4 separate regions of the Homo sapiens genome follow, and all the other regions are linked to region 4. The links are contacts of gene promoters, found by promoter capture Hi-C in blood cells and fetal thymus (Javierre and others, 2016). All regions are on one chromosome and are shown on one strand. Each heading gives the region's core, a stretch centred on a gene start or on the middle of the fragment in contact. The rest is flanking DNA. Distances are from core to core; before and after follow the strand shown.

What was found. Contacts are between HindIII fragments. The CHiCAGO score rates a contact against its expected background, and 5 or more counts as called.
Region 1: a contact is called between a fragment that was not itself captured here and the fragment with the promoter of MYNN in region 4, in 3 of 17 cell types (naive CD8 T cells, total CD8 T cells and activated CD4 T cells). The highest score is 8.3, in naive CD8 T cells.
Region 2: a contact is called between a fragment that was not itself captured here and the fragment with the promoter of MYNN in region 4, in 1 of 17 cell types (activated CD4 T cells). The highest score is 5.0, in activated CD4 T cells.
Region 3: the fragment with the promoter of GOLIM4 here is called in contact with the fragment with the promoter of MYNN in region 4 in 1 of 17 cell types (erythroblasts); the score reaches 5.5 in erythroblasts.

What each region holds. Positions count from the first base shown.
Region 1 is chr3:170,904,340-170,910,041 of GRCh38, reverse strand. It overlaps EIF5A2 (eukaryotic translation initiation factor 5A2), which reads left to right and starts at 1,405. Exons shown (of 5, transcript NM_020390.6): 1 at 1,405-1,499; 2 at 2,201-2,400; 3 at 2,949-3,053. The coding sequence starts at 2,236. RefSeq lists a silencer at 1,745-1,884. The HindIII fragment of the contact is 744 bases long and covers 3,800-4,543 here.
Region 2 is chr3:170,854,601-170,860,426 of GRCh38, reverse strand. No RefSeq gene overlaps it. Among named protein-coding and RNA genes, the nearest start is that of RPL22L1, 13 kb to the left of the region's middle. The HindIII fragment of the contact is 1,328 bases long and covers 2,717-4,044 here.
Region 3 is chr3:168,092,707-168,098,575 of GRCh38, reverse strand. It overlaps GOLIM4 (golgi integral membrane protein 4), which reads left to right and starts at 2,652. Exons shown (of 16, transcript NM_014498.5): 1 at 2,652-3,477. The coding sequence starts at 3,291. RefSeq lists enhancers at 1,877-1,926, 2,124-2,625 and silencers at 2,297-2,536, 2,827-2,876. The HindIII fragment of the contact is 7,495 bases long and covers 1-4,464 here.
Region 4 is chr3:169,770,425-169,776,057 of GRCh38, reverse strand. It overlaps MYNN (myoneurin), which reads right to left and starts at 2,662. Exons shown (of 8, transcript NM_018657.5): 1 at 2,596-2,662; 2 at 1,497-1,793. The coding sequence starts at 1,762. It overlaps TRV-AAC1-1 (tRNA-Val (anticodon AAC) 1-1), which reads right to left and starts at 3,828; the gene lies at 3,756-3,828. RefSeq lists enhancers at 2,563-2,857, 2,496-2,999, 2,573-3,122, 4,013-4,112. The HindIII fragment of the contact is 7,916 bases long and covers 1-3,999 here.

The DNA.
Region 1 (5,702 bases), core at 2,922-5,421, 1.1 Mb before region 4:
CAGGCTCAAGTGATCCTCCCACCTCAACCTCCCTAGTAGCTGGGACCACAGGTGCACAGCACCATGCCCAGCTAAGTTTTCGTATTTTTGGTAGAGACGGGGTTTCACGATGCTGCCCAGGCTGATCTCGAACTCCTGAGCTCAGGGAACCCACCTGCCTCAGCCTCCCAACGTGCTGGGATTACAGGCATGAGCCACTGCTGTAATGGCTCCTTTGTATATTAGCTAGAGGCTGAATTCAGTACATGAGAGGGCAGTAACTTATTGCGAAAGTTAAATTGGACCTGTTTGAAAGATATGTGTAAACTGTAGAGTCATACAGGAATGTGAGATATGGGATTATTCATGAGACAGCAATAGGAAATCAAAGTTACCACATAAATGCGGGTGTGGGATGGGAAATAATTTCCTAGATCACCTCCCCAAGATAGGATACTGCGGTAGGTTGCGAAATGAAACTGTGAAGGGGGAGCACATCTCTTTTAAGAACCTTTCTATGGCAGTCTACAAGCTCTAGGTCAATTTTGAAGACCATCCAAGCGTTCTAATGTGCCAGGGTTAAACCCCAAACTCTAAGGAATGCCAATGCCAGGAGGAAAGAATGGATGAGTCGGCAGAACACCTCTCTGGACCCACAATGCCGTAGGAGTCAGACACCCTTCGCCTCCACAACTTCCCAACAGCCTTTGGTGTGAGAAGTGGGTTAATTCATTTCACTGCTGGCTTGTTAGCTGGCGGACGCTTCGGGAGTTCCCACCCCAGGGAGCAGTGCTGACTCTACAGGGGCATCCGGCGGCAGTCGCTGCCAAAAATCTCACCAAGGGGTGAATGGGGGGTCCTCAGGACCTGCGGTGCCGAGCTGGGTAATAAAATACTGCACCTGAATTCTTCTTTAAGGACCAGGAGGAGGTTCGAACCCCAAGAAAGGCTGCAAGCTGAACCAGAAGCTCGAACCCAAAGTTCGCTTCACAGCCAGCCACACTGGCACTCGCTGAATCTGCGCGCCTCGCGAGTTCTGACGATCGTCATGTGATAACTGCCACGCACCTGATGGCAGGGGCCATTGGGTGCTTTGCTTGGTTCCCATTAAAGTCGACTGCGACCCGAACGCAACAAACCTAAGAGTTGGAAGGCGCAAGTTCCTCTGCCAGCGAGCTCACCCTCGGCAACCAGACTGCTGAAAGTGCGCTCCACGCCGGAAGTGCACTAATCCGCAGCACGTGGGGTTGCCAGGGCGCTCTTCACGTGACTGGGCGGAGCCTCGGGAATCTGGTAGCCAATGGTAGCCCGAGAGGGCGGTGCCTGTGACGCTCCGGGGCCTATCCCGGAAATAGGGCTGAGTGGGGGCGGGTAAGGGCGGGGAGGCTGGGGTGTGGAAAGTGTGGCGGCCCCGCCCCGTCTCTTGGAACTGCCGCGGCCGCCACCGCCGCTGCCGGCGCCGCTGCTGTAGGGGACCAGCGCGGGTGCGCAGACGAAAGGCGCTCTTTGCCAGCTGAAAGGTGAAGACCTGGGGAAAAGCTGGTGGGGAAAAGCTGGTGGGGATGGGGCCAGAGTGAGGCAGGGCCGGGGAAGGCGCCCAGAACTGAGCGCTGACCGAGAGAAAGAAGGAGAATGGATGGGGGAACAGAGGCGAGCGCGGGACCCGCCGGGGCTCAGGCCCTAGTGGGGCCGGGCCGGGCCGAGCTGAGCCCTGGATGCCGGCAGAACAGGGGGCGCCTGTGCGGCCGCGGCGGCGACGTTGAAGGGTGGAGGGCGGGGTGCGCGCCAGCTAGCAGAGGGCCGGGTGCTGCTGGCCAGGTTCTGTTACCCCGCATCCTTCGCGGGGACCTGCGGCCTGGGCTGGGTCCCCCGCAGTAGGGTTCGGGGCGGCGGCCGAGGGCTGGGCGGCGGGGGAAGGTCGCCGGCTTCTGCGGTGGGGCGATGGGGGCCGCAACCTGCTGTTTCCAGCACGGAGGAGCGCCCAGGGCGGGTGTCCCCACCCTCAGCGAGCTCCTCTGCGACTTCTCATCCCACCTCCCCAAGCAGTAGCTGGAAAAGTTTGTAGAGGCCAGAGTTAGAAAGTGGCCACTAGTCTAGGGTGGGTGTTCCTTACATGCAGAAATAACGGGCCCATGATGCTTGGCACATAACTTGTCCGAAATGAGACGTTTCCCTGCCTACATACCCGTTGTTAAAAAGCAAACACAAACTTTTTGTGTAGTTCCCACGGAAAAACTACCATCTCCCCTGCCCACCATGGCAGACGAAATTGATTTCACTACTGGAGATGCCGGGGCTTCCAGCACTTACCCTATGCAGTGCTCGGCCTTGCGCAAAAACGGCTTCGTGGTGCTCAAAGGACGACCATGCAAAATAGTGGAGATGTCAACTTCCAAAACTGGAAAGCATGGTCATGCCAAGGTAAGTACCCTTGCAGATCAGGCTTTGGCTTCGGCGTTGGGACTTTGATCATTTGTATTCCGTTACAGATCATGAGATTTCTATACTTAAAATTTTGTAATAAGCACTATTTTTTCCTTCCCACAATTACTGGGTAATCAGTTATTACGTTGAATACTTAAAGGTAGCATTCCCTTCTTGGGCCCTTACAATGTTCATTAACTGGGAACTGAAACTTTCCTGAATCCTAGTGACCTATAAGATCTATTTAGTTTACAGATGAGAAAACCTGTTCTAGCAATTCTAAGAAATCTACACTTTATTTTTCTTGTGTAATCTCATAATTGAATCACTGGTCTATATTGGGTCTTGACATGTCGTGATACTGTTTAGTTGTTTACTGCCTCTTAATTGTAAGACCACTACATTTTTTTTTAAGTAAAATTAGATGACCTTGGAAGGAGGAGAAAAAGAATCTGTTGTAATCAGCATTGGTATTGTGCTCTTGTGTGTGTAATGAGTGATATACTTGGCAGAGATTAAACAGGTTTCCTGTTCTCCTCTGTTAGGTTCACCTTGTTGGAATTGATATTTTCACGGGCAAAAAATATGAAGATATTTGTCCTTCTACTCACAACATGGATGTTCCAAATATTAAGAGAAATGATTATCAAGTAAGCACTGATTTTCTTTAGAATGTTGCTTGTTTCTTCAAGGTGCAAATACTTTGTACTATCAGTAATAATTTGACAAAACCCAAGAGTAGTTTTGTAGGTTTTTCTAACCAATTATTAGGCACCAGCTATCTTAGAAATTGGAGAAATAGTGATGTTTAACACATGTACTTTTCTAGGATTATTGCTAGTTTGCTATTTTTTTCACATTCTTGCATTTTTTAAAAAGTCAAATACTTATTAGTGTTCTCAGGCCAAGTGACTGCATATTGCAATTAAGTCCAATGTTTAGTAAAAGTACTATTCTCTCTGTTGTAAAATATTTCTTGTTCTAATTTAAAACATCCCTCCTGGATGTTTTGTTTCTTTTCACTGATCAGACCTGAGACATTCAAGAAACTACTGAAATTCATGTTCCTACCAAGTTTTTGCATTAATGAATGTTAGTCAGAACTTGACATTCTTAAGTAGAGAAATAAGTTGAAAGCCATAAATATAAAGGATAAAGTACCTGGTCACTGAGTATGGTGAAGAAAACACAAAAACTATATAATTGGTTAAATTATACTTAGTGACCATGCTATGACCTTTTGCTAAATTATGTATGTAAATTTCAAGTTTTAGTTCCAGTTATACATTTGGGTAGGTCATATTTAATGATAGCATTTTGTTGTTTGAAGTATTGATGATAACAAAATAATTGACCTTATAGGATGTGGAAGCTCAGATTACTTATAACTAAAGCTTTTCTTGAAAGTCTTCAATTTCTGTATCAAGCATACCATATATCAAACTCATTTCTGCTCATTTTACATAGTGAAAAATACAAAGTTGACACTGGTATTTGTTTTATCCGACTTAAACTGATTTTTTTCTGTACCCTTTGTTGTATTGTATAAATTTCTTTTAATGTTGCTATCAACTGCACTTACGCAATGATTTCCTTTTGCTGTTTGTCCACATGCAAACATACTTTTTTGTGGTTTTAATCTAGTAAACACTTTTATATTTTCACTTTCCTACTTGTCATAAATGTTTTCTAGGTTGCTTTGAAGTCTTTGTAGAAATTTGAATTGTCTTGCAAGTGGGTTTTTTTAACCAGGTAGATCTGGGTTTGGATCTAGTTCTGTCACTTTCTAGTTGGATGATTTTGGACAAGTTATACACCTTTCTGAGCCTGTTTTCTCATCTACAAAATAGTGATAATAGGAGGATTAAATGAGAAAATGTACCCCATTAAGAACTCCATAAGTAGATACGTACCAAAAAGTGCTGTTCTGTTTCCCCCTTTTCCTATGTAAAAATTCTACTTAATCATTTCATTATTGTTGGAGCACCAACTTTGATGTGGTACATAGTAGGTGCTCGAAAAATATTTGTTAAATGTATATGTGATTACTGAATGTGGTAGAGATAGTACAGCAGGCTAAAGTTGAGCGTAGAATGTTGTCAAAATTGGGTTTCTCTTTTCGTCTTAAAGTATGAAAGCTTTGACTATTCAATATTAATTATATTCAGTAATATTCATTCAATATAGAATGCTTTTGCCTGTTGCATGTTTCAGAAAGATGGTATCAGCAGTTCAGATAATTACTATTATACTATGATAAGGTTAGCCAGTCATTGATTGGAGCTCAAGACTTAAAGGAAAAATTTGGTTTGGGTCCTAGACTAGGATGAGGCAAATGAAGTGAGGGAGGCTCTTGCCTCAGGCACAAAATTTTAAATAAAGACAGAACTAGTAACAATGACAAGCCATATAGGAGCTCAAGGCGCAAAGAAAATTAATTCTGATCCCATCTTTATTTAGAATTTTGGTATTTTATCATAGGATTTTTGCATTAATTCTAATTTTTTAAAATATTGCATTAAAATGCCTATCTGATCACTGAGGTTTTTTTGGTGCCTTCTTTAATTTTGCACCCAAGACAAGTGTCTTACTTCACCCTTGTCCCAACCCTTGGTATGTACTCCGCACTGCAAAGTGGATAAGAGGATGATTTAAGCCAGGCAGGCCTGGTCCTAGTCTTACTTTGGCACTTAATAGCTGTGTGACCTTGGTTGACAAGTTACTTAACCTGTTTTGCTTCCATTTCTTTCTTTATAAAGCAGAGACATAAATAATAACGCCTCATGGGATCATTTTGAGGTTTAATTAGTTAATACAACAACGCCTGGCATAGAAAGTATTCAGTATTTCTCTGCTCTTCATTTTCAAGTCAGCATAGAAAAATAACTTATTTCTGTTAATTGTTTAAAAAACTAGTTCTCCAACCTGGGCAATGTGGTGAGACGCCATCTTTACAAAATACAGAAAAAAAAAAATTAGCGAGGCATGGTGGTGTACACAGCTGTAGTCCCAGCAGACCCAGAGGCTGAGGTGGGAGGATCACTTGAGCCTTGGGAGGTCAAGGCTGCACTAAGCTGTGATCACTCCACTGCACTCTAGCCTGGGCGACAGAGTGGGACCCTGTCTCAAAAACAAAAGTTCTGTGGGCCTTTCTATTTATATTTATTGTGCTATGGTGGTCTTCACTTACCTAACCAAGTGCCTTGATTAAATATCTACTCATTATTTGGCGTGTGTAATCCTTTATGTTTGCTGAATTCAATATTTTGAGTGCCAGTTCGGCAGTTGGCTAAAGAGAA
Region 2 (5,826 bases), core at 2,131-4,630, 1.1 Mb before region 4:
GGCATCTTCCCAGACACTGGCGTCACCGCTAGACCAAGGAGCCCTTCTGGTGGCCCTGTCTGGGCATAACAGAAGGCTCGCACTCTTGTCTTCTGGTCACTCCTCACTATGTCCCCTCAGCTCCTATCTCTGTATGGCCTGGTTTTTCCTAGGTTATGATTATAGAGCGAGGATTATTATAATATTGGAATAAAGAGTAATTGCCACAAACTAATGATTAATTATATTCATATATAATCATATCTAAGATCTATATCTGGTATAACTATTCTTGTTTTATATTTTATTATACTGGAACAGCTCATGTCCTCGGTCTCTTGCCTCGGCACCTGGGTGGCTTGCAGCCCACATCTCCCCCCTTTTTATTAACTAGGATCGCCATCGCCATCATTGCTTGTCGTTGACTTCGGACTTGGTTTCGGACTCCTTGGAGGCATCTGCAGACTAAAAGGAGACTACATAAGCATACCAATATTAATAATGCCAGTAACAACAATGATCCTCCGAAGGGTTTGAGCCATTTGAAGGGATTAAAATCAGATAATTGTTTAGTTATGCCTTGAAAAATATCTGAGCCAGGAACAGTGGATAAATGGGCTTGTGAAGTCTCAAAGAATTGCTCTTTAAGTTGTGAAATATCCAACGTTATGTTATCATCACAGGTTTTTAAATGTCTTGAGACCTTTTCCCAGCTATGTTGATCTTGATTATAAGCATAAGGCGTTATGCAATAATCAGAAGTATTCCAATCACACTATAATTGCATACAGTGTTCCAAGTTCATAACTTTATCTCCCAGCCAGGTTACACTTTGGCGGAGATCATTAATTTGATTAGCTAATTTTTGAACAAATTGAGCCTGAGAATTCCAAAGTCTGGAGGAGTTTTTTTGCCATGCTTCAACATAGTGAGCAGTTTGAACAGAATTGTGGATGGCAACTCCAGCAGTTGCCGCTGTTGCAGTAACCGCAATTAGTCCTGCAAGGACTGCATTAAGAGTAAAAATAAATCTCTTTGTTCTTTTGAGGATACCTTTAAGAACTTCATTGACTGTGTGAATAGAGGGGGAAGACTCCCATGGACGATGTAAAGAAACTGGTATCCATACCCCCTCTCCAGCCCTAACTAAGAGAATACTTGTAGTGGGATTAAAAGTAGTATCAATGCACGTGAACAGCTTACAGTTATCACATTGTATAGTTTGTGTATTAGGAATAATAATTATATTTCCAACCAACAGCATGTAAGGGGGTTTGACACAGCTGCTGATGGGTATCACCCGTTCAGATATGAAGGTGATGTTGAATGTGGGTGTTTTGGTATTAGTACGAAGGAGTTGATAGGTAGTGTTCCATATCCTTATTCCTGTCAAGGCTGCAGCTAATTTCCATAGTTCAGGATGTTCTGGGGTAACAAAGGGATGAATCATTTTTGGTCTAGGAGGAGCAATGCCTGCATCCGTCCATCCATTTGAATGGGTAAGGAGACACCCATTGTCTCAGCCTGTAAGACTGCCATCCATTCTCCATATAATCTAATAAATAAATAAACTCTGAGCATGAGGTATTTTTGCCGGAGCAATCTTGCGAATAATGCCCTTTTGGAGCCCAATCAATAGCAATACCCGTGGCTAGACTTTGGAGCACAACAGCTTTGGAAGCATTACAATTATCCCATAAAACTGAAGTCACTATAAGAGGCCCCTTTGTAGGTTTCTTCGGGCAGTCTGGCAGTTCTTTTGTTTTATTAGTTTTGGTAGTTACACTTACTAATATGCAAATGGTCTCATACTGAGCCAATAGGAGCCTCTTCAGGTTGACTCTTGTATCCTTTTGGCATGATCTTATTTGGATTTTATTGCTTATTTGGTTTCTGGTATAATAGGATGTGCTAGGCTCTTCCAAATTTCCTGCCTCAGATCTGGAGTCATCCGTTTTTTTGTTGTTGTTGTTTGCTTGTTTTTTTGAGACAGAGTCTTGCTCTATCACCCAGGCTAAGTGCAGTGGCGCGATCTTGGCTCACTGCAACCTCCGCCTCCCAGGTTCAAGTGATTCTCCTGCCTCAGCCTCCTGAGTATCTGGGACTACAGGCATGTGCCACCATGCCTGGCTAACTTTTGTATTTTTAGTAGAGACGTGGTTTCGCCATGTTGGCCAGGCTGGGCTTGAACTCCTGACTTCAAGTGATCCTCCTACCTTGGCCTCCCAAAGTGCTGGGATTACAGGGGTCAGCCAGTGTGCCTGGCCAGGAGTCATCCATTTCTACAAGGAGCTCTGGACTATTTTCTAGGTGCTGGAGATGCTTGTCATTACTGGGGTGGTGTTTGTTTCTAGGCCTTTTGAGTGGACAGAGTGAAGGAATACATTTTTGTTCTTAAGAGGAAATGATATGTTTATTCTGATGCTTCCAATTCAAAATCAGGATAAAAGAGTTTTTATTTCATCAATTGTATGACCATATCTCTTTTTTCCCATGCTGAAAGTTCCAGTTCTCAATGACACCAACACAAATGCTCATTTGCTTTATCTCACAATATACACATAATAGTTTCAATAAAATAATACCAACAAAACTACCTATAATATAATGACTTTACAGCTTAAGATTGTTTTGCAGTTCTTTTTGTCCTTATGGTATATCCCACTAGAAATGAACAAAGTTTCGTGTTTTAAAGTCACTAGAAATGATTCATCTCTGTGTGGGCGTAGAACAAGCTTGATACACAGAGTCATTTGTTTCATTTTGCTTTTGATTAAAAAGTTTGCTTAAGCCCACTTTGTTTTTTATAATTCTGTAAAATATTTACAGGATTCTAAAGTCCAATCTACAAAACAAAGTATATTTAGAAAAGTCTAGTTTCTCTGTCTTTTTTTTTTTTTTGAGACAGAGTCTCGCTCTGTTACCCAGGCTGGAGTGCAGTGGTACAATCTCAGTTCACTGCAACCTCTGCCTCCTGGGTTCAAGCAATTCTCCTGCCTCAGCCTCCTGGGTAGCTGGGACTACCAGCTCCTGCCACCACACCCGGCTAATTTTTGTATTTTTAGTAGAGAAGGGGTTTCACTATATTGGCCAGGCTGGCCTCGAACTCCTGAACCTGTGATCCACCCGCCTTGGCCTCCCAAAGTGCTGGGATTACAGGTATGAGCCACCGTGCCCAGCCCCTAGAGAGGAGTTGTAAACCTGAGACTTACAGGTCAAAAGATAAATGAATGTGTAATTTCTAGATATTGCTGAATTTCCCTTTACAGGGGTTGTAGCATTTTGCTCTCCCACTAGCCTTCCCACCAGCAATCTGTGAAATCTGTTTTCCTGTAGACACACCAAGAGATAACCTTGTCCAATTTGAGGCTTAACTGACAGGTGAGACCTGGTTTTCAGGGTAATTTTCCTTTGCATTGTATTTGTGAGTGAGGTTGAATGTCAATAAGGGTCATTTGCATATCTTTCTCTGTGAGCTGCCTGTTTATATCTCTAATATATATCTGTGGAATTCTTGTTTTTATTTTTAATTTTTTACTTTTAGAAGCTCCCTCTATGTTAAGGCTATTAACTCCTTGTGTGTGATGTAAATTACAATTTCTTTTTTCAGCTTCTCATTTGTCTTTTTCCCCTACTTATGGTATTTTTGTTTTTTAACTTTTTTTTGAGACAAGCCCTTGCTCTGTTGCCTAGGCTGGATCATGGCTCACTGCGTCCTTGACTTCGTAGATTCAAGCCATCCTCCCACCTCAGTCTCCTGAGTAGCTGAGACTACAGGCACACACCACTACCTGGCTCATTTTTTAAAAAATTTGGGTAGAGATGGGGTCTTGCTATATTGCTCAGGCTGGTCTTGAATTCCTGAGTTCAAACAATCCTCCTGCCTGAGCCTCCCAAAGTGCTATTATTGCAGGTGTGAGCCACCATACCCAGCTGCTATTTTTCTTTTGTTTTATTACTAGTTTTCATTTTGTTTTGTTGTAGTTGTTGCTATAGAAGCATTATTTTTATTTTTATGTAATTAAATCAATTAACTTTTTTCTTATTGCCATGGTTAGAAAAGCTTTCCCCGTTATCAAGAATTCATTTATGTTTTCTGCTAGTACTTACATATTTTCATCTTAAAAAAATGTAGGTCTCTATTCTATTTGGAATTTATCCTGGTTTACAATTTGAGAAGTGGATCCAATTATACCTTTTTCCCATGTGACTACCCACCTATACCATTACCCCTGATGAAAAAGTTCCCAGGAAGTTTTGCTTAGCATAGGTTTTCCTACTTACTGTCTGGAAACCCTTGTATGTGGTCATGCTGAAGGGACTGGAGTCTAGATATATAGCTTCAGTGTGTGCTCTTTTACAAGCTGGATGATTAAAATGCCAGGAAGGCCAGTTTTAAACAATGTGTTGCATTTACAAATGGCTTTCTCTTTTCTTTTGATCCCTTAACAGCCCTCTGTGGCACAATATTATCTTCCCATTTTTCAGATGAAAAAACCAGGTCTCAGGTTTACTGGCTTGCCCATGGTCACACCATGGCACCCACCTCTCACTCCTCACCCAGTGCTCCTCCCACACACGGGGCCATGTCACACATCCTGCCTCTCTGTTGCCTACTAGCTTTGTGACCTTGGACACATCTCTTCACCCTCTGGGCCTCAGTTTCCCCTTCTGTATATAAAGAAGTGGTTAAAAATAGGTCAGCATTTCTCGGGCTTTAGTAACACCTGCTTCCTTTTGATAAACACAGATATTTCTCATGTTCCTTGTTCCCAGTTCCAATTGCCACCCTGTGATATAACTGATGCATAAATATCCCCACCAACCAAGGTATTTTGGGGCTTTCTATTCTGAAACAAAACAAAGTAAGATTTTTGGGATAATTTTCCCACTATAAACTCATAATATTGGATATACCTTTTTTTTTTTTTTTTTTTTTTTTTTTTTGAGACGGAGTCTTGCTGTGTCGCCAGGCTGGGGTGCAGTGGCGCAATCTCGGCTCACTGCAACTTCCGCCTCCCAGGTTCAAGCGATTCTCCTGCCTCAGCCTCCTGAGTAGCTGGGATTACAGGCCCACACCACCACACCTGGCTAATTTTTTGTATTTTAGTAGAGATAGGGTTTCACCAGGTTGGCCAGGATGGTCTCGGTCTCCTGACCTCATGATACACACAAGCTTCTTGAGAGTAACATACTTCCCCCATGATAAGGCTTTTTTTTTCTGTCCTAAAATCCTATGAGTTAATGAGCCAAACTGGGAATCATGATCTGCTATCTCAATTATGATGGAATAGATATGTTTTCTCCCAAGGGAGGGAACACTGCAACTCCTCTCTCCCTCTTTCTCTGAGATGGGGAGGTGTGAATTACAGATTCCATACATGTCACAAATATATGGTCAATGATTTCTGCCTTGGCAGTCGCAGTCATGGGAGATGATGGGTGAGTTATATATACTCTCTGCACTCAAGGAAATCCCAGTTCTAACGAGGGGAGCAAATGTGGGTACAAATGACTTTAGGTAAGTGTGGTTCATGCAGTAATAGAGATATTACAAAATGCTTTAGAAGCACCAATACCATAATGAGTGGGAAAAGGAATCCAAGAAGGCCTTCTGCAGGAGGTGGCTTACCCTGACTTCTCTTTAAGGAAGAATGGGAATTGATGGGGCAGAGAAGAAGAGGGAGAGAATTCCAGGCTGAGGAGGAATGGTGATAGTGGCTACTACTCATCGAAGGCATCTGTTTTGGAATCTTTACATACTACATCTCATTTAATTTCCACAGCTACCCTTCAAGCTAGTTATTAGTCCCCTTTTACAAATCAGAAAACCAAGGGCTTAGAGTG
Region 3 (5,869 bases), core at 1,403-3,902, 1.7 Mb after region 4:
TATAGGCCTTGGATAGCTTCCTCATGTTGGCCGCTCAAAAGCTCTATACTGACATTTTCAGGAAACTAGCAGCATACTTTACCTTGGAAATGTAATATTATAAAAATACCACCATTAGTAATTTTATGTACTTCTACATACCCTTCTTGAATTTGAAATAATGGATAAGTTCAGGTAATAATTTTTGCTGTCTTTCAAATTTTATGACTAAAATATTGAGTTGTGTTTTATGGCCTGCATTTATTATGTTCTGTAGAGTCAGCCAGCAGCTTTAGGCAAAGAATATCTTTGGAGTCTGGAATCAGATGCAAAGGAATCAGAGGTTTAAGATGAATCATACATTCAGGAAACATAAGAATTTTCCAAAGATTCTAAAATACATATTGTACAATATATGAGCAATAATTTTCCAACCCTCTATACAACTTCTTTTTCTTTTGTGGCTAGGATAATTTTCTCTTCAAATATGGGGCAAGATTATTGCCATAAACTTTATTTATTTATATATTTATTTATTTTGAGACAGAGTCTCACCTCTGTCGCCCAGGCTGGAGTGCAGTGGTGTGATCTTGGCTCACTGCAACCTCTACCTACCAGGCTCAAGGGATCCTCCCAACTCAGTTTCCCGAGTAGCTGGGACTATAGGTGCACGCCACCATGCCCAGCTAAATTTTTATATATTTTTTTTTTTGTAGAGGAGGGGTTTTGCTATGTTGCCCAGGCTGGTCTCATACTCCCAAACTTAAGCGATCTGTTCGCATTAACCTCCCAGAAGTGCTGGGATTACAGGAGTGAGCCACCATGCCCAGCCTAAATTTGGATAGTGTTTTTGGAGGAAGAGTTTGTTTAACAAAGTACTCTGACAACAGTAAGGAATGTTTAGTTATGAGGAATTTTAAAGAGATTCCAGTAATTATCCAATGTTAATTTCTGAGAGTCAAACTAAAAAAGAGGAATTTAAAGTGGTAGATTTAATAATAAGGAAGATTATGTAGTATTTACACAACAAAACTCCCAAACTCCTTTAGACTGTTTTCTTTTACAATCAGATTCTCATGTTAATGGAGATATAATTTCTTACTGTAACTTGTTTAATAGAATGAGAACATTGTTTCTATTGAAGAAAAAGACATAGAGCAGGGTTTGGATCTGGATTCTAATCTTGCTGAGTAACTAACTTTATGCAAGACCTAAAAGGTCCTAGAGCTGTCATAGTCACTTTGATAAACTTTGGCTTCTTTACCAACATGAAAGTCTAACACCCTGGCTGTGATCAGTGAGACAGTGTATCTGCACACGAAAGCATTTTGAATAATTTAACGCAAGTTATTATTTATTAAGGAAAAGCACATGCAAGACACACTTTATTTTTACAGTGGTATAAATGCCACAGGGTAGCATCGTTATAAATTCAGTTTATTTTAGGGCTTTAGCAACCTATAATTTCAGAGTCCACCTAAAAAAACTTTTGCACCAGGAACTGTCTTTCTGTTGCATTTAGCTAAAGAGATTTACCCCCATTTTGAGCACTCAGGCCCATTAGCAATGGTAACGACTAAAGTCCAGTTAGAATATAAAAATTATGCAGTGTATCATAAATTACACCACACTATACAGACAGATAAAATTTACTTTTCTTAGAATTCAGGTCAACAGCAGAAACAAAAATTATCATTTGTGCATAACCTTAATTATTCCCCTCAAGTACACAGAAAAAATAAATGCAGTATACATTTCTTCGAAGAGGTTTGTGGTTACTACCTTTCCTGTGCTGTACTAGTTTTTACATAGGGAACCTTTGTTGCCCTTTAAAATGTAATTTAGAAATGTAACTGATGTGTTTTGCCACCAATAAAACAAATACATATGACAAAATGAATGGATACTCATTTCAGTCTGTACGATTTGTTTTTAAATTATTCTATTTGCAGCTAGAGGAGAAATGTGAGACCATTTCTTTCCTCTCTGCCAATGGCAAGCCGATTTCCCCAGCCCACGTGGACAATTGAACATTAAGTCTAGCGTGCTTCCAGTCTCCCGACTCCTGCCGGGCCATCTGTGGGCACACACACATCTAGGCTAGTACACTGGATGGGGTAAGGCAGTCGACATGGCATCTCTGGTTTGACTACCGGGATTGTGCTATGTAGCTATCCCATGTGTCTGCCGCATCAGTTTATTGGACAGGGAAAGAAAGTGTACTCAGCAGAGTGCACACAGTTACTGCCATCCATTCTTTCGTTCATACACACATTTTACTCCGCTCTCCACGTGCGTTCCGAACGAGAACTGGAACACACACACACACACACACACACACACACACGTGTTCACCGAACCTCACCCAGACTCAGGCCCGGACAAGTCCCCCGCCCACCCAAAGCTCCCCGCCCTTCGCCCTTCCGCCTGCCTCTTCCCACCCTCTCCGACTCCACGTGGGCGCACCCCGGCGCCAGGCGGCCGCGCTGCCCACAGAGCCCCTAGCCGGCCCCGGCACTGGGAGGGAAGGTGCGGCCCTGGGGTCGGACGGACAAAGCCGGCATCCAATCGAGCCCGGCACTGCCTCCCCGAAGGGAGGGAGCGTCTGCTCGGACGGGCCCAATGAGCAAGGAGGCCGAGTGGGACTTCCTCCCGGAATCCCGTTGGCCAGAATAGCCGGGCCGTGGGTGACACGTAAGTTGGGCAGGAGGTGGCGGGGCGGCAGAGGCACCAGCCGACCCGTCAGTGACACCGCTGTGCCGTCCCCAAAACCAGCCGAGACAGCTGGCCCCCACCCTTCCACCCATTGGGCAGGCCGCACGGGGGCGCGGCCCGGAGTCCTGGTCCCTTTGTTGGGCGCGCACCCCCTCCCTTAGGTGGCAACAAAGTCGTGCAGTGGGAGCCGCCGCGATAGGGCGGGGAGTGGCCAGGGCGGGACTCCAAGAACTGCCCGGGGGCAGCGGGGCCAAAAAGTGGGAAGAAGGAAAAAAGGCAGGAGGCATCTGGGGACAGGCGCGAGGGCAGCCGGCTCTGAAGTATGCGGAGGGCCTCCTCCCGGCCCCGGGCATTCGCGGAGAACGAGCCTCGCAGAAGTTTGGCTGCAGCTGCCCGGGCGGCGTCGATGGCTGCGCGCCCCGCGCCGCGCGGGGGCTGAGCGGGCGCCACTTCCCCTCCGGGCCGGCTTTTGTGTCTGGCATCTCCTCCTCATGCTGCGTCTGGCCACCTACTGCGGCGGCCGCTGCTGAGACGCTCGCTCGGACCAAGGGGAGGAGACGGCGGGGGCGGCCGCGGCTTTGGGTCCAGGCGGGACTATGGGAAACGGGATGTGCTCCCGAAAGCAGAAGCGGATTTTCCAGACGCTGCTGCTGCTGACCGTCGTGTTCGGCTTTCTCTACGGCGCGATGCTCTACTACGAGCTGCAGACGCAGCTGCGGAAAGCCGAGGCGGTGGCGCTCAAGTACCAGCAGCACCAGGAGTCCCTCTCCGCCCAGTTACAAGGTACGGCTAACGGGACGCGCGCAGCCGGTGGCCAACTTTGCCCCGCGCCTCCACCCGGGCAGGAAAAGTGGCTTTGGTGAGCTATTGGCACTGTGGTTGCCACCTCTGACCTTCAGGGACGTCAGAGGTGAGCGTTTCAGGACTGCCGGCACCAGAGTGTCAGGGGAGATGACATTCTCATCCTCCCGCTTCTTCCTCCCAGCGGTTAGGTTTAGAACTTCGTAGCACCAGCCCATCGTCCCGCTGGGCGTTTGGTGGGCGGGTGCACAGATAGTCCTTTACCCGAGCTCTTGTCAAAGGCCCAGCTGCAATCGGGGCAGGGAAACTGGTAGCCCTCCGCCGCTTCTGCCAGCCCTGCTCTGAGGAGCATTGTTCCGTGGATTCTAGGTATTTGCTTTCTTGTTGACTTTGTCAGTTGCTTAAAAAATGAAGAGTTTGGCAGAGATTTCTCAAACTGTGCTGTTTTTCAAGGGAAAATTAAGCCATGACCCAGCAGCTTAATTAAAGTCATGGCCCAGTCGAATGGAAGGAACCTAGATCTGGACCTGCTAGTTTCTTATTTCTTATTCTTTTAATTTAATAGGATGTCTTTAGAGATGCTGGATGTGTGGGAAAAGTCCACACTACATACCATTCACCATCCTGCAGTAGTTTATTTCTTTAAAAACAGGTTTACTTGTCTTCCTAAGTAGCTTTTACTTCATCACAGAGATGCATGTATGTTACAGTTAGCTTCGGGAAGCCAAAGAGGAGAAACACAGGTTTTCACTTTGCCATGCACAGCAAACCCAACTTGAGCAAGACCTGTAGAAGAACTTAAAGTTTCTATCCTATTTTAGAATCTAATTTAATGTAATTTTCACAAACATAATTTACTTTAAATGTAAATTCAGAATTTGAATTTGAATTTACTTTTAACGTAAATTCAAAGTCAGCACCATGTCCTCTTGTTAAGGACGTATCCTATACATATTTTTTTTGCAAGCTTTTACTTGTGGTTAGTTTTCAATACTTATGCAGCTTTCTCCCCAACCAAAAAATAATAATAAATAGCTGTAAGTGGTGAAATGTTGGCAGACTTTGCTGATGATGCAAATATAGCTTGTTTAATATTGCTAGGTAGATAGATGCAAGCTAGAGGGATGTTTCTGTGTATGTGTGTGCAGATATGAAACAGATGCCTCTTCTTTGCTTCAGTTATTTTGAGTGTTTTCTAGTAAAAAATTTAAGATGAGAGAAAATGATACACATCCGATTGTTTGGACTTAACTTGCTCTTCCCAACTTAGAAGAAAGAAAAGTATTTTTAGCTTACTGACGCTGCATAGCCACAGGCAATGAAAATATATGGCTCGGCTTGGTTCAAAAGTAAAACCCGTTTTGATACGCTCTTAGGTTCACAAAATTTTCTTTAAACTCATTGAAATTTACCCATGAGTTATTGTTGGTATGAGAATATGGATATTTGTTTACTTATTTATTTACAAGGTATCAGTTGCTTCCCTGTGAAGTTCCATGGAGTCAGACCAAGGGAAAAATTTACCGTCTAATAGTATAACAGGACTAGATTTTCATAAACATGGCTGGAAGGGGCATGTATGGTGGATTATATGAGGTTGTGTGTGCCTTGGTCTCTTAGGAGTCCCATGAGGGCAAAGGCTGTCATTTTCACCATTACCTCCTCAGCACCACACTGTGCCTGACACTCATTAGGGGAATCAATGCATGTTTATTCAAACAACAAACAAAAATTATTCTGAACTGTGGCGAGTAAGTTCATCCCAGGCACTTTTGTCTTTCTGAGACTTTGCTTCTGTGTCTTTGCTTTTTGAAAGCCAAATAAAACAAGAAAATATTTTGTTCAAGTAGCTCCTTTGCCTCAACGGCCTATGATGGACGATGGATATTGTTGACTGAGGCCCTAATTTCTGAATAATGGCCTTTATTTGCAGTATTTCATTTTGAAATTTTAGAAATTTCTTTTCTAATTTGCCTTTTCTTTTTTTAGTGGTGGTGGTGGTAGTGGGGAAGAGAGGTGGTAAATGGTAATACAGGATCATTAAAATATACAACTTTTGTTTTGCAGCAGATGGAAATGTTCTACCTAATTTGAATAAGTGGCTTCAAAGTCCCTTTCTTAATTTATTCTTTTGTCATTTCCTCTCTAATTATGGTGCTACAAAACTTGCAGTATAATTGTGCATGAATAATTATTTCACAAGCAGGCTAAAGTATTTTTTTGTTTGTTTTTGTTTTTTGTGGATTCACTTTTGACTTCAGTAGCATTTATTTTGGATTTCCCATGTGTAAGCCATTTAATGTACATTTTCTGGTGGTATGCAACTTTTGCTTCCCTTTTCCAAGACAAATGACATTTTACTCAACAGCACTGT
Region 4 (5,633 bases), core at 1,413-3,912:
ACTGCTCTTTTCCTTTAATCAACTTATAAAGAACTCACTTGAAGATTTCATTATACCAAAATTTAAAAATAATTCCAAAATAGCATGAAAGTTTACTTTTCTCTCCCTCCCCTCCCCCCACTGGATACTTCTTACACAAGAATGTTTCCTCGTCAAAAGGATTAATGAGCACCCTGATTCTAGATTTTTAAATAAGTATATTTCCATGATAAGTTACAATATAAAAGGGAGGGAAAGATTTTGCTTAATGTATACATGCACATCTCTACAGAGATCTGGAAAAGAATTAATTAATATATATCAAAAGGTTAACAGGGGTTATCAGTGGGCAGCAGTATTTCAGGTGTTTCTTTTTTGTTTTTTCTATTTTTTCTCCGAGAAATGTGGAATTAAAGGGGGAGGAGAGGGTAAAGAAGAAAAATAAAGAAATTAACGTTCAGTGGGAAGTGAATAAGGATCAAGTAAAACCTTATTTAGCCTCAAGGTAGTTATTACCATCTCATTTTGACAGATGGGGAAACTGAGGCCCAGAGAGATTGCATCATGCTCAAGGAGACATAGCGACTGACAGGAAAGATCTAATTCCAAAGCCTATAATCTTCCTGTGTCAGAAGATTATGAACAGTCTATTCATGTTCACTTTCATAAGAGAGACAGAAATAAGACAGGGGTAATTTAATCAGTTTCTCTTTGCTTTTATTCCCTCCACCTTTTCCCCTACAATCTGTAAATGTATTGATATTAATCTAATTATATGGTTCGTTATACAGGGGAGACACACAGTGCCTACATTATCAGATTCCTCAGAACCCACTTCTTGTTAATGCAGTGACATCAGTAAGCATCTTAGAGAATCATTCTAGCATCTCTGACCTTACTTCAGTATTAGTACTGGTAGGTTAATAGAGATAACAGGAGTCAGAATGAGGGAGACAGAAGACCAGAGGAATTCAAGGACCAAAAAGCAATGGGAAACTGGAAGTAACTTAGAATTTTTTGTTTGCAGCCTGGCCAGCATGGTGAAACCCTGTCTCTACCAAAAAATACAAAAATTAGCCAGGTGTGGTAGTGCACACCTGTAGTCCCAGTTACTAGGGAGGCTGAGGTGGGAGAATCGCTTGAACCCGGGAGGCAGAGGTTGCAGTGAGCCGAGATTGCCCCACTGCACTCCAGCCTGGGTGACGGTGAGCCCGTCTCAAAAATAAAATAAAATAAATTCATTGTGTTTAATGTTCAAGTTTACATAAGTGAAATCACAGGCTTTGTTTCAGTAAATAAACGTGTCAGAAATCTTACTGTTTATTATCTGTGCTTATGAAAAATATTGCCTGCTCATCCTAAATCAGTGATACTGATTTCTTTATAAAAACAAACATTGTGTGCATAAATAGGTGAAGAATTTGAGTTCAGAGAATGAATGGAAAAAATACAAATCTACTTTTGCTGTGAAGACTACTGACTAGCTTTTATAACTGAAAATAAAATGTGTACTTTACCTGTCAAGATTTAAAGTTCCTGTGTATATAAACTCCAACAGTTTCTGAAATCCATCAGCCTTCACCTGACTCTGATCAAGAAAGACATTGTTCTCAGAAGTGCTTCTGTAGATCGCACCAAAATACTCACTAAAGGAGGCCAGCACATTCCTATGAGCTTTAAACTGGAATTCCCCAATCACTATGGTACAGTCACAGAGAAAACCTGCTTCCCGCTGTTTGTTCAGTCTCTCTAAAAGGTGCTCACAGTGGTGCGAATACTGCATTTTGATATCAGAATGGAATTTTACCCTTGATCTAAAAGACAAAAAGAAACAGTAAATCAGTAACCGTAAGTTCTCATCAACGTTCAGTGAGGGAAGGGACAGAGGACATAACTTAAACAATTTTAGCCCCCTTGAAAATCCTTATCAAACATACATGGTTAAGAATGAAGGGATGAGTGCCTTTCTATCTTTGGTTACCTTGATCAACTAACACAATCCTTTGGACACATCAATAAGTGACGGTGAATGGCAACACTTCTACCACCTGCAAAAAGCACAGCAAAACCTGACGCTTTCACATCTGTTGAACCCTCAGATTTTCAAGCTCAGTAGACATACTTATGTTACAAAAAAATTTTTTAAACCACTAAGACATGATCTCTTGGGACAGATAGGGGCAGAACAGTACGAGTTTTTAAAAACTGCTCTCAAGTCACCAAAACCTGTTAGTTTCCCCAGTGCAGTTTCTCCAAAACGAGAGGTGGCTGCCCAGAAAGCCGGGAATGCGCCCGGCCATGGCTTGCTGTCAAAGGTTCTATCACTCGCGCTAAGGAGGCCACACCTTCTCCCTTCCCACTCTCTACGCGAGGCGGCATCCGAGAGTGACAACCAAAGCCAGTCCCTCCTCGGCTTCTGCCGCCCTGCCCTCTGCCCAGCTCCCACTCCCGCGAATTTCCACAGCAGAGGTTGTGGCCCAGGCCACCCCGGGGCTGCCTAGCCCAAGCCTTCCACCTGCGCCCCGACCCGTGCTGGAACTCCAAGGAGCCTGCCCTCTGATGGCCCAGGCTCTAGAGAGACCGGGATGGCGGGCTGGGGGTGAAGTAGGAACTCACCGATAGCAACCCAAGGGGGGAACACAGTTTCTTCACTCTGTCTCCGCCATCTTGGGAGGACGTCACCGAGCCACGCTCCGCCCCTCCCTTCCTTCCACGGTGGCGTCACGTCCGGCTCTGTCTTCCCGTGGCAGTGCGGGAGGTTCTGGGGCCATGGGGGTCCGGCGCCGGCCAGGGCGGTACAGGATGTACCACAGAGACCCACTCCCCAGCATGCCAGGGGTCCCCCGAAGCAGCAGGCGTCATGGATACGAGAGCTGAGGGCTCGCTAGCTCGCAGCGCTCCGCCTGTCTTCCTCATCGCGAGCATTCTGGTGCCGGCAGTCAGCGTCTGGCGCTCTGCCGGGGCTCTGCGCCGAGGCCCGGCAGCACAGCACCGCGGGCCTCTCTCCTGAAGCCAGCTGCGCACTGCGTGCGGGGGCTTGTAGTTGCTTGTCTTCTCCCATCATCCTCCCCTTCCTCGGGGCCCCACCGGTGGAAACTGCTGCATGTGTACTCGGATCTCTGCCATAGGGGATTTTTTAGCTGAGACTTGGCACCCCTTTCCCGCTTACGTACCTGAAAACTCTTGGCACCCCCTGGTTTTTTTGTGCCCCAGCCAACTGTAGCTCAGCTTCCAAGATGCCCTTACCTGGTGACAGAAGTCTGGGATGCACGAAAGCGGAGCAGCTGGGCACAGTGGGCATGCGCAACATTAGAGGAAGGTGGGCTTTATACCGGAAAAGGTTTTCCTGCGTCTGGACCAGAAGATTTTTAATACGATTATTTACAGCCACTTCAGACGAAAAACCAAGTGATATAATACAAAAATGCTCAGGAGGCGACAGGACTAACCACTTTTACACTTTGATCTTTCCTTCTAGGCTGTACATTATTTTTTCAGTGTTAGCTGGTGAGTCAAATTCATTTTTTAAAACCCGGGACACATGTTCCACGTGGCAAGGCTTCCATAAAAACATTTGGTGAACGAATAAAGTAACAAAAACTTACAGTTCAGACTCTCAAATTGCTATCATGTCTTTTGAAGGACCGGCATACATTAAGCTAAGGCTTCCCTCAGAAAAAAAAACAAAACAAACAACAAAAGAAAACAAAGCGTGATCTCACGCTTTCTTCCAAGCGAAGGAAAAAAAAAAAAAAAAAAAAAGGGATTTTTTAGTGTGTTTCCGCCCGGTTTCGAACCGGGGACCTTTCGCGTGTTAGGCGAACGTGATAACCACTACACTACGGAAACCCCACTTTGGAGAGGGTTTTGTAAAGTCCTTGATATGTAAGTGTCAATTCGCAATTCTCAAGTGATTATTATCAAATTGAGAGGAATGAATATAATGTATTTAAAGAAAAAAACAGAAAAGGAAAAATAGCCTATGCCCAATTGAACAGAGCTGAAACCATTTCAAAAGCTTGAATCTGCACGCACTTTCTTCCAAAGTGCCCGGGTACCGCAGTAGAAACCAGGCACTCCCGAGTTGCCCTTCCTTTGGGTGGCCTTTTTTTTTTTTGTCTCCCTGGAAAGGCGTTTTATTACACATCCTTTCCGCAGGTTGAGCTGCTCAGAGTCCGGGGCGAAGCAGGGGGCTTTCGTTATTCAGCCGCGAAAAAGCCATCCTTTCAGCTTCTGGTGGAAGGACGTGTAAAATTACTTTTGAATTTCCTCTTTTTGCTTCCGAAGACCAAGCAGAAGTTCTAAATTGACTGCTTGTTTTCAAATTCTCTACAGATGTATGCAGAATCAGACACCAAGATGCGTTTATTGACATGCAATGTACTTTCAAATTTTTCCAAACTTGAATTTCATATGACCTGATAAACTTCACTTTTCCTGCAAAAAGACAGGCACGTCCTTCAGCCTAAAAATCAAGAGTAGCGAATGAGGCTTGCAGATTACACCAGAAGGATAGAAATCGAAATATATATATTTATATTTATTATATATAAATATAAATTTTTATATATTTATTATATATAAACATAAATTTTTATATATTTATTATATATAAACATAAATTTTTATATATTTATTATATATAAACAAATTTTTATATATTTATTATATATAAACATAAATTTTTATATATTTATTATATATAAACATAAATTTTTATATTTATTATATATAAACAAATTTTTATATTTATTATATATAAACATAATTTTTTATATATTTATTATATATAAACATAATTTTTTATATATTTATGATATATAAATATAATTTTTTATATATTTATGATATATAAATATAATTTTTTATATATTTATGATATATAAATATAATTTTTTATATATTTATGATATATAAATATAATTTTTTATATATTTATGATATATAAATATAAATTTTTATATATTTATGATATATAAATATAAATTTTTATATATTTATGATATATAAATATAAATTTTTATATATTTATGATATATAAATATAAATTTTTATATATTTATGATATATAAATATAAATTTTTATATATTTATGATATATAAATATAAATTTTTATATATTTATGATATATAAATATAAATTTTTATTTATGATATCTAAATATAAATTTTTATTTATGATATCTAAATATAAATTTTTATTTATGATATCTAAATATAAATTTTTATTTATGATATCTAAATATAAATTTTTATTTATGATATCTAAATATAAATTTTTATATATGATATCTAAATATAAATTTTTATATATGATATCTAAATATAAATTTTTATATATGATATCTAAATATAAATTTTTATATATGATATCTAAATATAAATTTTTATATATGATATCTAAATATAAATTTTTATATATGATATATAAATATAAATTTTTATATATGATATATAAATATAAATTTTTATATATTTATGATATATAAATATAAATTTTTATATATTTATGATATATAAATATAAATTTTTATATATTTATATTTATGATATATAAATATAAATTTTTATATATTTATATTTATGATATATAAATATAAATTTTTATATATTTATATTTATGATATATAAATATAAATTTTTATATATTTATA